Regions from separate parts of the Homo sapiens genome. Here region 1 is linked to region 2. Evidence: promoter capture Hi-C in human tissues and cell types (Jung and others, 2019). All regions are on one chromosome and are shown on one strand. The core of a region is centred on a gene start or on the middle of the fragment in contact, and the rest is flanking DNA. Distances in the headings are between cores, read along the strand shown.

The links. Contacts are between HindIII fragments. The study calls those that stand out against the background at their distance.
Region 1: a contact is called between a fragment that was not itself captured here and the fragment with the promoter of HP in region 2, in 1 of the 25 tissues and cell types used here (liver).

What each region holds. Positions count from the first base shown.
Region 1 is chr16:71,918,562-71,921,261 of GRCh38, forward strand. IST1 (IST1 factor associated with ESCRT-III) reads left to right here. Exons shown (of 10, transcript NM_001270975.2): 5 at 2,178-2,261. Among named protein-coding and RNA genes, the nearest start is that of IST1, 24 kb to the left of the region's middle. RefSeq lists an enhancer at 772-951. The HindIII fragment of the contact is 3,427 bases long and covers 1-2,700 here.
Region 2 is chr16:72,053,119-72,055,818 of GRCh38, forward strand. It overlaps HP (haptoglobin), which reads left to right and starts at 1,387. Exons shown (of 7, transcript NM_005143.5): 1 at 1,387-1,539. The coding sequence starts at 1,535. The HindIII fragment of the contact is 10,372 bases long and covers 1-2,700 here.

The sequences.
Region 1 (2,700 bases), core at 169-2,668, 130 kb before region 2:
GCCCGCCACCATGCCCAGCTAATTTTTTGTATTTTTGGTAGAGACGGGATTTCATCATGTTGACCAGGCTGGTCTCGAACTCCTGACCTCGTGATCCGCCTGCCTCGGCCTCCCAAAGTGTTGGGATTACAGGCGTGAGCCACCATGTTGAGCCGTTTTTGGTCTCTTCTGTACTCCTTTAAAATTAATTTTGGAAAAGGCTTAAATATGTTACAAAACTCAAAAGCCATAAACAGAGTGATAAATTAATGTGAATAAAAAAATCTCTGTGTAGTATAAACCAGCCAAAACAAAAACCATAAAAGACAAATGCCATTTATATCATAGGTGTCAGGTACCCCTGAAAGTCTTCATAATGAACAGTGAGAACTCTCCTACTGGGCTTCTGGAATGTTGGGACCACTCTGGTCCAATGCTACTGTCGTTTCCTGTCTGGAAATGAGAGTAGCTTCTTGAATATTCTTCCTATTCCTACTTTGGCTTCTTTTAATCTATTCACACCATTCCATCAGAACCACCTGAGGGTTTTGTCCAAAACACAGCTCCGATCCTGTCACGACCTCTTGCTTTAAAGCCCATTAGTAGCTTTCTGTTGCTCTTGTGATAGAAACAAAACTCCCTGATACAGCCTACATGGTCCTGCATTGTCTGGCTCCCACTTCCCTTTTTCATTTCTTACCACACTCCTTGGCCTCTGCACTAGAGGCTCACTGGCTGATTGCAGGCTTGAGAACTGACCATGTTTGTTTCTGCCAGAGGCCTTTGCACTGCTGTTTTCTTTTCCTGGAATGTGCTTCCTTCCCTATTTAGTTAACTCCTAGTCATCCTTTAATTTATTATTTGAGACGGTCTTGATCTGTCACCCAGGCTGGAGTGCAGTGGCACGATCTTGCCTCACTGCAGCCTCGGCTTCCTGGGCTCAACTGATCATCCTCCCACCTCAGCCCCCTGAGTAGCTGAGACAAGAGGTGCGTGCCACCATGCCCAGCTAATTTTTGTATCTTTTAAAAATAGAGACTAGGGTTTTGCTGCGTTGCCCAGGCTGGTCTTGAACACCTGAACTCAAGTGATCAGCCTGCCTCAGCCTCACAAAGTGTTGGGATTACAGGCATGAGCCACGATGCCTGGCCTTAGTCATCCTTTAAATCTCAGCAAAGCATCACTTCCCTCAGGAAGCCTTACCTGACTTTTCTGATCAGATTTGATTCTGCTGTTAGAAGCTGGTGATAGCATGGTGCACCTTCCCTTGGTATCACTTACTGTAGTTGCAGTTGTACCTTTATCTGTGTGATTATTTTGTTAGAAATGCTTGTTCCCCAGTGCCACAGAGAAATAGCACTCAAATATAAATTTATTTCAGCAAGGCAATTTTTACCTTCTGCAGAAAGGGTGCTCCTTGCAGATGGAACAATGGCGAGCGCACACTGAACAAAGGGGGTAAAAATATTTATATCCTACACATCTGGACCCTACTGCTGTGTCCTGATTCCATTGGCTGGAACTGGACCTCACAGTCTGGGCTACACCCGTTTGGCTAAAGGTTTTAAAAGTTTTTAAAATAGATATATGCAAGGGAGAACAAAGGAAAAGAGGAACTTGCTTATGAGAAGACTTAGAAAAGTACTAACATTCCCAAATAAGGAAGGGGCATAGGCTGCGAGCTGGGACTTGCCTGTGAGCACATCTAGCACAGATATCTTGGTTAAAGTACAAGGACATAGAATGTATTTCTTATATTTAACAGCTACATAGGATACGGCTTAACAAAGAGTTATTAGCACAAAGCAAGGAGGCTTGAAGGAAGTTAGTCTTTTAAAAGAAGCTTATTTCTAACACTTATGATTTATTCTTTAACAAGGGAAATTTTGAAGAGGAAACTTTACTTTGTACAATTTGATTAATGTAAGACTCTATAAGAGTAAGAACAGTATCTGTTTTGTTCATTTTATTTATATTGTATAATACTCATGATAGTGTTTGGCACTCGAGTGCTGCTCATTGGATGGATGGATGGATGGATGAACAAATAGTGGATTAATGCATACCCCTTAAGGTTTTGCAGACTCCAGTGTTTTGGAAATCTTGTAATAGACGCGTGTTTACTGTTGCCAGGAAGAAGCTTAAAGCAGTCCGTTGGAGTGGTCTCTATTTTTATTTGCTGTCCTTTTTCTTTTTAGGTTGCTGATCAGCTCTGTGCCAAGTATAGCAAGGAATATGGCAAGCTATGTAGGACCAACCAGATTGGAACTGTGAATGACAGGGTAATGAACATACTTGGTAAACATGAAGGCAGTGTGTGGGAGCAGTTTATTGTACTGCTTGTGGCAATTCTAGTGGGTACCACTGTATTGCTCAGTATGGGGTTTCACCTTTCATAGTGGGGTGAGGAGGACAGCTGTGTGGCTGGCAGTGTGGTCCAATCCTTACACCTGCCCAATTCCTCTGGTTACTGTCATTCCTGACTCCACTTCCCCACTTTGTATGCCTCGTGTCATTTGTGAAGGTTGGAAGTGAGGTGGGGAGAAGGGTGGATGAATTGAACTGTGGAAGGCAGCAGTATCATCTTTTGCCAGCATCTGGGTCATGTGTAATGAGAATGTGAAAGAGAGACTTGGGTCCTCTGATGTGTCTTGTGACTCTGAAAAAAATCATTTAACTGCTCTGAACCTTTTTTTCCCTCAATATTACCTGTAAAATGAG
Region 2 (2,700 bases), core at 137-2,636:
CCCTTTATCAGATATAGAATTTGCAAATATTTTCTCCCATTCTGTAGACTGTCTTCACTTTTTTTTTTGAGACAGAGTCTTGTTCTGTCACCCAGGCTGGAGTGCAGTGGTGCGATCTAGGCTCACTGCAACCTCTGCCTCCCAGGTTCAAGCAATTCTCCTGCCTCAGCCTCCGAGTAGCTGGGATTAAAGCATGCGCCACCATGCCTGGCTAATTTTTGTATTTTTAGTAGAGATGGAATTTCACCACATTGGTCAGGCTGGTCTCAAACTCCTGACCTCATGATCCGCCCACCTCAGCCTCCCGAAGTGCTGGGATTACAGGCGTGAGCCACCACGCCTGGCCTGTCTTCATTTTATTAATACTGTCTTTTGATACACAAATGTTCATTCCGATGAAGCCCAATTTATCTAATTTTTCTTTGATTGCTGGTGATTTTGGTGTCATTATCTAAGAATCCATTGCCAAGTTTTACTTGGTTTTGATCTCTAGAAGACTGCCATCATACTGAAGGTAATCTTCTGAAACTTGCGGTTTTCTTTCAAAAATTATGTTTATAAGATGATCCATGTTCTTGCAGAGTTTATTCATTTTATGCTGTATAATATTCCATTATATCCACATACAATGCAGTATTGACCCTTCCTCCTGTTGATGGGCATTTGTCTTGTTTCTAGTTACTTTGCTATTATATCAGTGTCACCATGATTATCCAAAAGTAATTCTTTTGTACACTCTAATTTAAGAACAACTAACCCTTTTTAATGAATAAATCAACCTTGTATTGAGTTGCTACTAAGTTTCAGTTGACTAGTACCTGGGATACACACAGGTGCAGACATTTGACTGAGACATATTGATTTTTCTCATCTGCCTATTTAGGCTAATCACCAGACTATAAAACCATGAGAACCACTGCCATTGAGTATAGTCTGTGTCAGTCTACACTATAGCTTTAACTAGTTGTGTGATTTCTTGCAAAGAGCAATCAGAGAAGACACAATAAACACATTTACTGATTTCAGGCTGGAGAGCTTTTAAGCAATAGGGAGATGGCCACACACAAGGTGGAGAAAATTACTGTGAAAAGGAAGTACTTTCTTTAGAGCCCCACCTAAGCTAGGCTGCAGAAATGTCTACAATGGGTTTGAAAAAACTCAAAATGAGCCTTTCTGCAGTGTGAAAATCCTCCAAGATAAAGAGACAGATTGATGGTTCCTGCCGCCGCCCTGTCCTGCCCAGTTGCTGATTTCAGGAAATACTTTGGCAGGTTTGTGGGTCATAGAGTTGCCAGGTTTCTTGGGATTTGTAATAGAACATCACAAGAAAATCAAGTGTGAAGCAAGAGCTCAACTCTTAACAGGGGTATTGTTTGTGGTTTTGTTACTGGAAAAGATAGTGACCTTACCAGGGCCAAAGTTTGTAGACACAGGAATTACGAAATGGAGAAGGGGGAGAAGTGAGCTAGTGGCAGCATAAAAAGACCAGCAGATGCCCCACAGCACTGCTCTTCCAGAGGCAAGACCAACCAAGATGAGGTGGGTCCACAGCTTTCCCTCCTGCCTTTCCTCTGGTTCTTTATTTCAGTCTTTTTTGCATACATCGGTAGAGATGCAGAAATAGAACAAAGAAACGGGCAAATGGGCTAAATTATAGTGAACCAAAGGGCTTAGTGTGTTAAATCTTCTCCTTTTCTGCATCCATAGAAGACAGTGCTGCTGTCTTTCCCAGGAGATAAGATTTACTCTCAGGAGTGTCTTTTTCCTTCAGGTTACATTTTTGACTTTATAGGGTATGTCATCAGCTCCCGTGGTAGGCTTCCTGGCATCCTGAGTATATTTATTAGCAGATATTTTCCTCTTTAAAAATGTACAATAAGGAAGACTAATAGTAACACATTTGAATGACACAATTAATTGACTAGTACCTGGGATACACACTAATACCTGGGATACATCTAATTAAGGCACTTAGATCTTATAAAAATAAACACTTTTTGAAATGTTGAAATAATAAGACTAGAAACTTTTTTTTTTTTTGAGATGGAGTCTCGCTTTGTCACCAGGCTGCAGTGCAGTGGCATGATCTCGGCTCACTGCAACCTCCACCTCCCAGGTTCAAGTGATTCTCCTGCCTCAGCCTCCCAGGTAGCTGGGACTACAGGCGTGCGCCACTATGCCCACCTAATTTTTGTATTTTTAGTAGAGACGGGCTTTCACCATGTTGGCCAGGATGACCTCGATCTCTTGACCTCGTGATCTGCCTGCCTTGGCCTCCCAAAGTGCTGGGATTACAGGCATGAGCCACCGTGTCTGGCCTAGAAACTATTTTAATAGAAGCAAGTAGTGCCCGAATGGTTGGCATTTGTTAGTGAGATGGTGAACTGGCAGACGGCACCTGTGGGTCAATGCCCATGGCCACCGTCCTGCTTTTGGACACCAGTTCTCTTCCAGGTAACCTTCTGGCATTTTGGGGTTTCAGATACCATTTCCTAAAGGTGAATTATTATAAAATACTAGAAATACCCACGTGTTTAAAATTATATATTTAAGGAACCTTTTATTACGGAAAATATCAAGAAGTAGAGGAATAGCACAGTAAGCCCAAAGTTCCCATCTCTGAGTTATCTACATTTTATTACCACTATCTTTGCGGTGTCTGAGGGAGGTTTCTCTTTCCTGGAGGGCTCCTGTATTATT